5 separate regions of the Homo sapiens genome follow, and all the other regions are linked to region 1. The links are contacts of gene promoters, found by promoter capture Hi-C in blood cells and fetal thymus (Javierre and others, 2016). All regions are on one chromosome and are shown on one strand. The core of a region is centred on a gene start or on the middle of the fragment in contact, and the rest is flanking DNA. Distances in the headings are between cores, read along the strand shown.

Region 1 (2,578 bases), core at 31-2,530:
CCATTTCCCCCTTCCCGCGCTGAGACGGCGAGGAAAGTTAGCCCGGAAATCTGCGCCCGCCTAAAACCCGGCCTGGTCCCAGCCACCGCCCCAGGAACTTCCCCCACCGCAGGGGCGGAGGTCGAGAGCAGGGATGGAGAAGTGGACCTGCGCGGGTGGACTCCGGGGCGCGGGTGGACTCCGGGGCGCGGGGGGACTCCGAGGAGCGGGTGGACTGTGGGGCGCGGGTACCGTCTCGCAGCGACCTCTGTCGGCGGCTCTGGGGATGGCCCGCATCTGTCTGCGTGTACCTGGTATACGTGCAGGTACATGTTCCTGTTCACGTGCAGACTGGGCGGGGGATGGGGGGGTCCACACCGGTGTACACCTTTGCATACCTCTTAGCAACTTGAAATTCCACCACGAGAGATATCTTTATTCCGCTATTCCTGTGCATCTGCACGGAGCCCCTAGGGCCATAGATTTGTGTGCAAATGAAATGAGGATGTAGTCTGGGTGCCCAAGGGGGGGTGCCTTGAGTGTGGTTGTCTGTATGCCTCCCTGAGGGTATTTCACTTTCTGCTCCCATCCGCCCCTATGAGCGAGTACCTATGAGCACAGGATGTGCACATATTTGAGTCTTATTAGTGGTACACGCAGTTTTATCATCTCCCCAGGTCTGTGTCTGTATGAAATGTGCATGGGTGTGTGTGTGCACGCGTGTGTTCCCACTCGGGGAATGTGGGGAGAGGTGCATGGAGCCAAGATGGGTGGTAAATAGTATGTTTCTGAAATTAAAGGACTAATGTGGAGGAAGGCGCCCCAGATGTACTAAACCCTTTGCCCTTCATCTCATCCTCTCTGACTTGGGAAGAACCAGGATTTTGTTTTTAAGCCCTTGGGCATACAGTTGTTCCATCCCGACATGAACTCAGCCTCCCGTCTGACCGCCCCTTGGCCTTCCTTCTTCCTCGATCTGTGGAACCCAGGGAATCTGCCTAGTGCTGTCTCCAAGCACCTTGGCCATGATGTAAACCCAGAGAAATTAGCATCTCCATCTCCTTCCTTATTCCCCACCCAAAAGTCATTTCCTCTTAGTTCATTACCTGGGATTTTGATGTCTATGTTCCCTCCTCGTTATTGATACACACACAGAGAGAGACAAACAAAAAAGGAACTTCTTGAAATTCCCCCAGAAGGTTTTGAGAGTTGTTTTCAATGTTGCAACAAGTCAGTTTCTAGTTTAAGTTTCCATCAGAAAGGAGTAGAGTATATAAGTTCCAGTACCAGCAACAGCAGCAGAAGAAACAACATCTGTTTCAGGGCCATTGGACTCTCCGTCCTGCCCAGAGCAAGGTAAGCACTTCCCAAGCCCCTACCTCCCTCCCCTCCCTGTGGGCCTGCAGCTGTCCAGGTGTAGAAACCGTTAGTGTGCTACCCCAGCAGCTGGCAGGAGGGAGTTGGTGGATTCCTGGAAGCATCCCTGGTGAGTCATCTGCTGGAACATTAGTGAAAACTTAGTACTCTAGGGACCGATGTACAGTGTCCATTTTAAAAGCCACCTAATAATAACTGTATAGCAAGATCTGTGTGTATGCATAGTTTGTGGAAATGTTTGTTTTATCTTATTTTGAAGTGGTGTGTATTGATGTATAAAAGTATATTCCTAAATGTTAATGCCCATCAGTTAAAGGATTGTATAGAGCTAAAGTGAGTGGTGCCTGCCTTACTATTGAAATTTTTAAAAAGCCTTTCGTGCATTCCTTAAAGTAATTGGATTCATAATTATAATAATGTTACAAATCAGACTTGCTCCCATATTTGTGATGGTCTTGGTCGTCAGTTGTGATATCAACCAAAATGACAGCTGGGATCCCCATTCTTGTGGATTAACTAACTTTGGCCCCAGTTAAAAAATGAAAAGCTATTATTGCTTCCTAAAGAGTTTTTAAATCTGTGAGAAGGGGGAAAAAAAGGTTTTTTTACTTGCCCAGGTAAAATTGTGTGCAACAACAATGTCATTTTAACAAAGGGATTACTAAACCCCAGGTGATGACCCACTTTTTCAAACAAGGAATTGCAAGATACTAGATGGAATGTGGGTAACCTCTTAGAGTTTAGTTTACTGGAATCTGAAATTGTATGATTTCCGTACATTCCTTCATGCTACTAATAAGTCATGGAATCCCTCTGTGCTGGACTCTGGGGGTAAAGTGCAAAACAAGATAGACATGATCCATGGCATAAGAGAGTTCACTCAGTGTGGCAGAGAAGACAAACAGTAAAGAAGAGACTGTATTGTTGCCATTGTAGTAAATGCTGTGGAAGGAGGGGAGCAAATAGTGGGTCCTGACTTCATCTAGGCACCATGACACTTCACGTGAATTATGTCACTAACTCCTTACCACAGTAGCATGCCCATTTTATAGATCAGGAGTGTGGGGCTTAAAGGGGCCAAGTGACTCACCCAGAGTCACACAGTTCTAGAAGTCTGCCTGGCCCTCAAACTAGGGATCTTTGCATGTGCCACCCATGCCATCTGTGACTATATCTTTTTATTCTTTAATAATAACTCCCTTTTCTAATTAAAGGTAACAAA
Region 2 (2,578 bases), core at 44-2,543, 670 kb before region 1:
CGTTGTCACACAAAAGCAGCCATGCACACCACATAAATGAACAAGAATGCCTGTGTTCCAATAAAACTTTATTTATAAAAGCAGGCATCAGGGGGGACTTGGCCTGTGGTCTGTAATGTGCTGACTCCTGTTTTAGAGATGAACTGTGATATCAGACTGGCCAAGACTGAATCCCAGCTCTGCTCCAACAAGTCCTATCACCTTGGACGAGCTCCTTAACTTAAGTAAGCTTCAGATTCCCTATTCGTAACATGGAGACAATGACAGTATTTTCATCCCAGGGCTACTGGGATGCATAAGAGAATTAACATATGTAGAATACTCAGAGCCTGTCTTTTAAAAAGTAACAGCTGGGTGTGGTGGCACATGCCTGTAATCCCAGCTACTCAGGAGGCTGAGGCGGGAGGATCACTTGAACCCAGGAGTTCAAGGCTGCAGTGAGCCATGATTGAGCCACTGCACTCCAGCCTGGACAACAGAGTAAGACCCTGTGTAAGGAAAATGAAAATAAGTGATCCACATGCCTCAGCCTCCCAAAGTGCTGGGATTACAGGTGTGAGCCACTTCCCCCAGCATAATCAGTTGATTTTTTAAAAAATACATATAAAAGTGGACTTTTCAGGACGGGATGGTGGCTCGTGCCTGTAATCCCAGCACTTTGGGAGGCCGATGCGGGCAAATCACTTGAGGCCAGGAATTTGAGACCAGCCTGGCCAACATGGTAAAATCCCATCTCCACTAAAAATATGAAAATTAGCTGGGTGTGTTGGCAGGCGTATGTAATCTCAGCTACTCGGGAGGCTGAGGCAAGAGACTTGCTTCAACCTGGGAAGTGGAGGTTTCAGTGAGCCAAGATTGCACCATTGCAGTCCAGCCTGGGTGACAGAGAGACGCTCTGTCTCAAAAAAAAAAAAAAAAAAAAAATGGGCTTTTCTTTTTTCTTTTTTAGTAGCATAGAAATTTCCTCAAGCCTGACTTTTAGCGGCATTATTTATATGACTCAAACCCCAACATCATCCTGAAATTCTCTTGAAGCGAGAAAAAAAAAAAGAATAGCTTCCAGTGTGCAAATCAAACATCCTCCCCAACATAAATATCTCAGACTATTTCCATAAATATTTGGAGAAACTGATCAAAATAGTAGCTTGTTTAGGAACTATCTTGCTTGTCCATGTAGACTACTTCACTCACAGTACCCTGTGTCTTTTAGTTAAAGACTATGAAAGCATTCAGCAGTACTTCAAACATAATTTGAAGTACTTTCTTAAACATAATTTAACAAATAAGATATTCATAGCCTGGGCATGGTGGCTCGTCCCTCTAATCCCAGCAGTTTTGGAGGCTGAGGTGGGAGGATCACTTGAGGCCAGGAGTTCAAGACAAGCCTGGGCAACATAGACCCCATCTTTACAAAAAATGAAAAATTGGCCAAGTGTGGAGGCATGTGCCTGGAGTCCCAGTTACTTGGGTGGCTGAGGTGGGTGGATCACTTGAGCCCAGGAGATTGAAGTTGCAGTGAGCTTTTGATGTGGTTTGGATCTGTGTCCCCACCTAAATCTCGTGTTGAAGTGTAATCTCCAGTGCTGGTGGTGGGTCCTGATAGGAGGTGATTGGATCATGGGGTCAGTTTCTCATGGTTTAACACCATCTCCCCTTGGTGTTGTGGTCACAATAGTAAGTTCTCGTGAGATCTGCTTCTTTAAAAGTGTGTGGCATACCCACGTTTTTTTTTTTTAATGGCAAATCCACACTGTCAGATAAGGCCCATGGCCTTTCTAGTGTTTTCCTGCACTGTCCTTAAAATGTGACCATAATGTCCCTCTTTCAGGCAGGAAGAAATGTGACAAAGATAAAAGGCATATACAGGGCCAGGTGTGGTGACTCACACCTGTAATCCCAACCACTCAGGAGACCAGGGTGGGAGGGTTGCTTGAGCCTAGGAGTTTGAGACCAGCCTGGGCAACATAGCAAGATCCCCTGCTACAAAGGTAGAGGGTGTAAGGTATTTCTTTATAGCAGTACAAGAACGGATTAATACAGCTGTGTTCACACCACTGTACCCCAGCCTGGGTGACAGAGTAAGACTCTGTCCTAAAAACAAACAAACAAACAAACAAAATATATTTGTAGATCTTTACTTGGCTATTTGAAACATTAATTATGGCTACCTAAGCTGACTTTTAGATGAATATTTAATAAGTATTCACAGATATCCAAAGACACAGATTATGAACAAGACAAACCAACCTTCCTTATTTTTCTGTCCTTTGTCCATTTATCCCGGTTTAGAAGTTGTAGACAAAATGAACTGTGTTTGATCTATAACTTAAAATCACAGTACATTGACTCAAGCTTTTCAAAGAGCCTAAGATAATTGGAGCTACAAGACCCATTGGCGAAATCTCATTTTATCTTCTATTTTCGTAAGTAGTTCCATCCAAGTGCACTTAAGATGCAGTTCCCCCTTTATTATTGAATTTTATATGAATTCAGCCCTAAACTGGCACTAAAAAGATAATATATGGTTGTAGCAGGACACTTACATGGAAGTGACAGAAAAACATCAGCGTCTCTGGGA
Region 3 (2,578 bases), core at 35-2,534, 630 kb before region 1:
AACAACCTGGGCAACATAGACGTTGTTTCAAAAAAAAAAAAAAAAAGAAAAGAAAAGAAAAAGAAAGAAAGAAAGAAAAGAAAAAGAAATAAAAGCTAAAAACCAAACAAGCCAAAAAGTAAAAAAAAAAAAAAAAAAAAAAAATAGCCAGGTGTGGTGGCCCCCACACCTGTGGACCAGCTACTCGGGAGGCTGAGGTGGGAGGATTGCTTGAGCTCAGGAGGTTGAGGCTGAAGTGAGCTATGATCGCATCACTGCATTCCAGGCTGGGCAATAGAGCGAGACCTTGTCTCAAAAAAAAAAAAAAAAAAAGCTGAAAAACAAGCCAAAAGATGCTGTGCGTATTGGGTCCTTGTTATGTGCCGCCAACTTTTTTAGCTCCTGTTTCATTTAATCCTGACAACAGCTCCCTGAGCAGGGTGGGATTATCCCTATTTTACAGATGAAGAAATGGGTAGACGGCAGCACCAGTGCGAGGTCCCTCACAGGTGAGAGACAGGTTTAAAATGAAATGAGATGATTTGAGAGATTTGAAATGAAAATGAAACCTGATGATTTGAGAGGTTTGAAATGAAATCAGACGGATGGCAGCACCACTCAGACAGATGGCAGCACCAGTCTGAGGTCCCTGAGAAAGACAGTTTTTAAATGAAATCTTTTGTTATTAAGCCCCCAGCAGCCCCCTCGTTAGTTCCTGATGTGCCTGTGGTCCCCTGTCCCTATCTCCTTACTGTGGGGCATAAATGGAGGAATCTTTTTATTCTTTACATATTCTTTTTTCTTTGAGACAGGGTCTCACTCTGTTGCCCAGGCTGGAGCACAGTGGTGCAATCTCGGCTCACTGCAACTTCTACCTCCCAGGTTCAAGTGATTCTCCTGCTTCAGCTTCCCGAGTAGCTGGGACTATAGTGCATGTCATCACGCATGGCTAATTTTTGTATTTTTTGATAGAGACAGGATTTCATCATGTTGACCAGACTGGTCTTGAACTCCTAACCTCGCCTCGGCCTCCCAAAGCGCTGACTTTACATATTCTTAAATCCATTGGCCTTCACTCAATATTGGCTGAAGAAATGAGGCAATGAGCAGGCTCAGAGACTGCAGTGTGGCGTGGGGACCTAAAGCATCATTTATCTGGTCTACAAAATGCCAGCCATGGGCTGGGTGGTTTCTAACATCCCTCTGGGCCCTGACATTCTGGGACTCTGGGATTATAAATTTGATTTGATTTATTTCACAGTCAGTGTCAAACAAGCCAATGACCTCAGGGGAGTCAGTGGGTGGAGAAACTGTTTTGATCCTCTTGTAAATGGAGTGGAACTCCTTTGCAGTGTGGCTCTTATTAGGGGCATTTGGCTACACCGTCAGGCAAACCACATCTCCTCAGCTGAAACAATTTGGTCCAGTAAAAACTGGAAAAATTTACAATAATATGCTGCTTCTGTCAGCACCAGCTTTGTAAAAGAAGGTTTCCTTGGATTTGGAAATTCCCTTCAAGGTTTTTCCATTTTTATTTGCCACTTAACCCTGGAATGAGATCATAAACTTGTCCAGTGAATACAATATCTTTGGGCCAATAGAGCCATGTTAAGTTTTAAAACAAATGCTGAAAACAATAATAACCACAGCCACCTTTTGCAACAACTCCATTCCAAAACCAGTTATTAAGGTACCACATTTACAAACATTCTCTATTGTAATTCTCCAACAGCCCTGCTACTATGTATTTCATTTTGCAGAGGAGGAAATTAAGGCTTAAGAGGTTAACAAGGTCACATGCCTAGTATGTGGTGGACTCTAATTAAAATCCAATTTTGAAGTGTGGGTTTTTACTCGTTTAATAATAAGGAAAAGGAGCATTTATTCATTTCCTTAAACACTAGGGAATTTCTCCCTTAACTGGGAATGCTGAATTGTCAAAGCACTTTTTCTGAAACTAAAATGTGGCATTTGTCCCTTTGAACCTTGGATTACAATTGCTTAGGTCTATATTCTCATCTCCTCTGATTAGACTGTGAATGACTAGAAAAGAGGGTTCATGTCTGACTCTTCTCTCTGTGCCCAAGGCCTACCTAGCACAGTGCCTGACACGTGAAAGGCACTCAGCCAGCAGGTGTTGCATGAATAATAGTGATAAAAATAATAAAACCAAAATGCATTAGCCTCTGGCTATGCAAAATGAGGTTCATGGATAAGCAGCACCTGAGTGCTGGTTAGAAATGCAGAATCTCTGATCCAGTGCATCAGAATCTGCTTTTTTTTTTTTTTTTTTTAAGAGCTGGGGTCTTTCTGTATTGCCCAGGCTGGATCTGAACTTGCTATGTTGCCCAGGCCAGACTGGCCTTGATTGCTGGGTTCAAGTGATCCTCCTGCTTCAGCCTCCTGAGTAGTTGGAACTACAGGCAGGTGTCCCCATGTTCAGTTCAAAATCTACTTTTTAACAAGATCCTGAGGTGAGAAGTATTGCCTTAGCCCGCATTACAATTTTACTTTTAAGAACTATTTTTGTGTGTATCTTGGGATTCATGGGTGAGCACAGGCTGGGCTGAGAGCCACCTCACTATGGGGTTGACCCCCT
Region 4 (2,578 bases), core at 27-2,526, 610 kb before region 1:
CCTCCCACCTTGGCCTCCCAAAGATGATCTAATTTATGTTTTTATTTTAATAAAGAAAGCATTACAAATTATTAATTACACATGTAATAAATGAATACTTTTTCTTTTAAAAATTAAGAACAATTTTTTTTGACTACCATCCCTAATTTCGTATCCCTACTTTATGGGGAACTATTTTCATCTTTTTGGTGTATTACCTTCCAGTTTTTTTCTATGTATTTCCATACACATACTCATAGAAAATAGAATATTTGGGATTTAAAAAATGTAACATTTCATACTATATGCAATGCTCTGAAACTTGTTTCTCCCCCCAACAATTTGTCTTTTTTGTGTGTTTGTAGAGATGAGGGTCTCACTGTGTTGCCCAGGCTGCTCTGGAACTCCTGGGCTCAAGTGTTCCTCCCGCCTTAGCCTCCCAGAGTGGTGGGATTACAGGTGTGGCCAGCCAACAATTTATCTTAAAGATCTTTCTTAATTAGTATCCAGATCTAATTCATTCCTTCTAACTGCTGTATCACAGTCCACTGTATGAATGTGTGAGAGTTTATTTCCTTACCTGCTTACGGATAGACTTTTAGGTTGTTTCCCAATTAGAACAGTACTTTTTTTACAAAAAGTCATATTGAGCTATATAATTCCCATACCATAAATTTACCCTTTTAAGTGTACAATTTAGCGGTTTTTAGTAATTCACAAAGTTGTACACCAACCCCACTATCTAATTACAGGACAATTTCATCACCCCCTAAAAAAACCCAGTACCCGGCCGGCCATGGCGGCTCACGCCTGTAATCCCAGCACTTTGGGAGGCCGAGGCGGGCGGATCACGAGGTCAGGAGATCAAGACCATCCTGGCTAACACCGTGAAACCCCATCTCTACTAAAAATACAAAAAATTAGCTGGGCGTGGTGGCGGGCACCTGTAGTCCCAACTACTCGGGAGGCTGAGGCAGTAGAATGATGTCAACCTGGGAGTTGGAGCTTGCAGTGAGCCAAGATCGCGCCACTGCACTCTAGCCTGGGTGACAGAGCGAGACTCTGTCTCAAAAAAAAAAAAAAAAAAAAAGAAACCCAGTACCCATTAGCAGTCATCTCATTTCCCCTTCTCCTCAGTCTCTGCGAACACTCATCTACTTTCTCTCTCTGTGCATTTGCCTATTTTGGACATTTTGTTTTAATAGAATTATATGACAAAATGTGAACTTTTGTGTTTGGCTTCTTTCCCTTAGCGTATCGGTTTCAAGGTTCATCTGTGTGGTAGCATGTGTCCATACTTTGTTCTCTTTTCTTTGGCCAAATAACATTCCATTGTATGGATATACCACATTTTGCATATCTGTTCTTCAGCAGATGGACATTTGAGTTATTTCCTTCTTTCGGCCATTATGAATAATGCTGCTGTGAACATCTGTGTGCAAGTTTTTGTGTGAGGACATGTTTCCAATTCTCTCCTGTGTATACTAGGAGTCGGACTGCTGGGTCATTAGGCAACCCTTTGTTTAACTTTTGAGGAACTACCAAACTGTTTTTCAAAGTGGCTGTGCCCTTCTACATTGCCATAAATGTGAGTTTTTAGAACAAGAACAAGGAAGAACATGTTCGTGGGCCAAATGGATGTGTTTATTCTTGAGACATCTCAGCCATATTTGGAACAAGCTGAAAAACACCTCAGCACTGTCCAGCAGAACTTTCTGTGATGATGAAAACGTTCTAAATCTGTGCAGTCCAATATGGCAGTCACTAGCCACACGTAGCTGTTTAACACTTGCAAGGTGACTCCTGTGGCCAAGGAACTGCATTTTTAATTTTAATTAATTTAAATATGATTACACTCATGTGTCCAGTGGCTACTGTATCTGATAGCACAGTACTTATTCTCTCCTGTGTGTAAAGACTGACAGTACCCAAGAGGTCCCCATAAAGTTATCGGAGAAGTGATCCACCTTCTAGGATGCACCTTGCAACTCCAAGTTAGCTCTTGTCACAGACAACACAGAGAAGAAATTCAGAGATTGTGATGCGTTAAATCAGAATTGTACCACATTGAAATTCAGGTAACTCCCAACTTTTGCAGAGTTATGCTTGGAAAGCTGGCATTTCATGTATCTCCTTTTAGCTCACCAGTTTAAAGAACTGTCTTTGTATTGTTTTGTTTCTTTGTACAAGAGCAATTCATGCTCACTACAGAGAAGCAGGAAAAGAAAATAAAAACTACCACAGATAATTGCTGCTAAAATCTTGAGGGGGAGTGTGTGTGTATGTGTAAGTGTGTGTATATGCATGTGTGTGTATGCATTTGTGTGTGTGTATATATACTGTTAAAGAAAATGTTATTTAATGATCCTTCTTAAAGCACAGTAAAGAAGACTTTATTTAGAACCATTGAGACAGGTATAGGAACTACTGCAATGGGCTGTGCAGTGGGGGAGACAAACTGGGCTCAACTATGAATATAGAATAAGCAAGAGGGAATTTATGGCCAAGGAGCAGGGTTGGGGGCAGTGGATGGAAAATTACTAAGAGAAAACATCAGGAGTAAGGGTGATTCTGGCTAAACCGAACTAACAGGGTTCTT
Region 5 (2,578 bases), core at 37-2,536, 590 kb before region 1:
AACATCTCTGTGTTCCCTACTAGAGCCAAATTCTATGAAATATAAGTATTTCGCTCACCATTATATCGTCAGTATAATGCCTGGACACAGTACCCACTGAATAGATACATATTTATTCAGTGAATGGATGAATGATTAAAGATGTGAACCCACATCACTAGAAGGGCAAGGTCCCTCCCACTTTTTCTTTTGGTTGGGGTGGCTGACAAAATGCCCAATCCTGAGAGACCCTTGTCATACACAGTACAGGAGAACATCGAGCCCTGAGCTAGAACATGGATGACCTGCCCTGATATGTCATAGGTTGGTTATTTTTTCAGAAGTGAGCAGGCAGTGGAAGAAAGGCAGATTTTGCAACAGAAGCATCATTACTAGTTCTTGACAGGGTGGTTCTGGGTTTCCTGGAGTACATGTGCTATGAAAACAGGTTGCTATCAGACAGCAAAAGGGCCAGACATTTCCTTGGTGTGCTGGAACAGGTATGGGTCTGTTCTGACGGACTTGGATTCAACTTTTGGCCCTATCACTTACTTGATGTGTGACCTTGGACCAGAAGTTTTACCTCTCTGAGCTTCAGTATATTCATCCATAAAAAGGGAGCAGTTACTTTTGCCTGTTAGAGTAGCTGTGAGGATTAATGAGATAACGTCTGTAGGAGGCCTAGCAGAATGTCTGGTACATGGTATGTATCCAATAACAAATACAATCTCACCAGGCTGTAAGCCTTCTTCAATCAGGGGCCATGTTTGTTTTTGGCTTGATAACCCAGTGTCTGGTACAGTGCCTGGCATGTAGTAGATGCTTTAGGAAGTCCTTATTAGTGATTTAATACATGGTCAAATGGGTTTTACTTTAGTAGGATTTCCCTCTTCCAGGAAGGATTCCCGTGTGTAAAAACTTCCCCCTTGCCAAGTACTCAAACCAATTGATTTATTTGTGGGCAACTCAAATCCCTGTGTTTTGAAATCTCAGAGCTGGAAGATTAATGTGTGTTTGTCGGGGTGGCTCTGTCTTGAGTCATCTCTGAGAACCTTGTGCTTGTGGAAGGTAGAAATTCGTCAGCCCCCATTTGAATGAAAGGGCTGGAGGATCAAATCAATGGAGAGAGGGATTTCTATTTTGTTCCAATACTATGGAGAACAAAACTGTTTCTTTGAAATTGACCTTCATTTATTTGGAGGGGAAAGCAGTTAGTTCAATAATGGCTTCCTGGTGCCTTCCAGCATTTTAAAAGACAGAAGAAAGATTTGGAGCAAGGCAAGGTTCCAGTGTTTTCTAAACAACTCACTAAGCCCAGCTACTGGTTGGCTGCGGAGCACTTCCTGCTACCGGCCCTGCATCCCCCAATTTCCCCCACTGCTGCAATGCACATCCTCAATAGCTCAGCCACTTCTTGAGACCCTGACAAGGCCTTCCCTAGGTGGGCTGGAAGTTAGCCTTCATTTTAATGCTGGGCAGCTGAAGATTCTCTGACATCTTGCAAATGGCTCATGGAGTAAGAAATACTGCTATATTCTATTCCAATTATTTCCTGTCCCTCCCTGGCCTGATTCCAGGGGCCAAATAAAGAGGTCCTTGTTTGGTGGAGTCCATTCCTGCTCCTGAGTAAGTGAGCACTGGTCCCTGGTCCAACTTGGTCTGAGGCCACAGGGAAAGGGTGGGGAGGACATTGGAGAGGATGTCCCAGGTGGGGAGAGCTCTGGAGGAGACAAGAGGCCCTGCTCTGCAGGCAGCCCAACCCTGCTTCCAGAAATAAAAATAAGAGATGAAGGAAAACAAATGGGGCCCCTGAACAGGATCCTGTAGGGGGCACAGCTATTTTCCCTCTTTCCCAGGAGAGATCCCAACCCTTCTCTCCCACGGAGAAAACAAACACAGCTATGGAAATCTTGTGCCATCCTGGCACCTGAAAGTCTATCACCAATTGGAAGTTGCTCCTACCTGCACTTCTCCCTTTGCCAAACACAGTCCTCCCCCACATCTGCTTCCTCCCCTTATGAGTGAAAAAGTTTTCACGGAAAATTTAGAATTTGGAACCTTCTTCAGATTCCAAAGAAGTTATTGTTCTATATCATGCTGCTTTTGCTTGGGTGTTATTTCAACTCAGAGAAAGTAGAAACTCACATCTCTATTTTGCTGGAATGCTCTTCCTGAATCATTAAGAAAACAGTAATTAAGTACCTTCTTTGTTTGAAGCTCTTGAGTACTTTTTGAAGCCCATCTCAAACTCAAGTCCTAGAGTCCACATTCCCCACATTATCTGTTAGGTTTTCAGGGAAGAAGGATGTTGATGGGGTCGGCTCAGGGACAAATCACTGGAAGATCTCTGGGAGATCGTCGCATGATAGTCGGAAAGTTTTCATCGCAAGGAGAAGAGAAACAAGATAGCATCAAGGTGGCAAGAACCTCTCACTTTTTATTGTGTGGAAGCTCAGGACCTGAGATGCTAGGGGGACAAAGTCTCAGAAAGGCACAGACAGAAAGGAGAGAGACGATGGGGGTAATGTGAGTAAGAAGAAAGTGAGGGTGGGCTTGATGACTTGAAGAGCAAGACCCAGAGAGAAGCCACATCATCTCA

The links. The method cuts DNA at HindIII sites, captures the fragments that hold promoters and counts their contacts. A CHiCAGO score of 5 or more calls a contact.
Region 2: a fragment that was not itself captured here is called in contact with the fragment with the promoter of IL12B in region 1 in 7 of 17 cell types (total CD4 T cells, total CD8 T cells, M0 macrophages and 4 more); the score reaches 7.2 in total CD4 T cells.
Region 3: a fragment that was not itself captured here is called in contact with the fragment with the promoter of IL12B in region 1 in 6 of 17 cell types (megakaryocytes, M2 macrophages, total CD4 T cells and 3 more); the score reaches 10.1 in megakaryocytes.
Region 4: a fragment that was not itself captured here is called in contact with the fragment with the promoter of IL12B in region 1 in 1 of 17 cell types (M2 macrophages); the score reaches 5.5 in M2 macrophages.
Region 5: a fragment that was not itself captured here is called in contact with the fragment with the promoter of IL12B in region 1 in 4 of 17 cell types (M1 macrophages, erythroblasts, M2 macrophages and 1 more); the score reaches 7.1 in M1 macrophages.

Annotation. Positions count from the first base shown.
Region 1 is chr5:159,329,189-159,331,766 of GRCh38, reverse strand. IL12B (interleukin 12B) reads left to right here and starts at 1,280. Exons shown (of 8, transcript NM_002187.3): 1 at 1,280-1,335. It overlaps IL12B-AS1 (IL12B antisense RNA 1), which reads right to left and starts at 249. Exons shown (of 5, transcript NR_037889.1): 1 at 1-249. The HindIII fragment of the contact is 5,320 bases long and covers 1-2,578 here.
Region 2 is chr5:159,998,739-160,001,316 of GRCh38, reverse strand. No RefSeq gene overlaps it. Among named protein-coding and RNA genes, the nearest start is that of TTC1, 9.1 kb to the left of the region's middle. RefSeq lists a silencer at 104-304. The HindIII fragment of the contact is 2,123 bases long and covers 232-2,354 here.
Region 3 is chr5:159,960,404-159,962,981 of GRCh38, reverse strand. All of the region lies in intron 1 of ADRA1B (adrenoceptor alpha 1B), which reads right to left. Among named protein-coding and RNA genes, the nearest start is that of ADRA1B, 45 kb to the right of the region's middle. The HindIII fragment of the contact is 5,552 bases long and covers 1-2,578 here.
Region 4 is chr5:159,940,411-159,942,988 of GRCh38, reverse strand. The region is part of intron 1 of ADRA1B (adrenoceptor alpha 1B); the gene reads right to left. Among named protein-coding and RNA genes, the nearest start is that of ADRA1B, 25 kb to the right of the region's middle. The HindIII fragment of the contact is 6,030 bases long and covers 1-2,578 here.
Region 5 is chr5:159,920,295-159,922,872 of GRCh38, reverse strand. The region is part of intron 1 of ADRA1B (adrenoceptor alpha 1B); the gene reads right to left. Among named protein-coding and RNA genes, the nearest start is that of ADRA1B, 5.1 kb to the right of the region's middle. The HindIII fragment of the contact is 4,619 bases long and covers 1-2,578 here.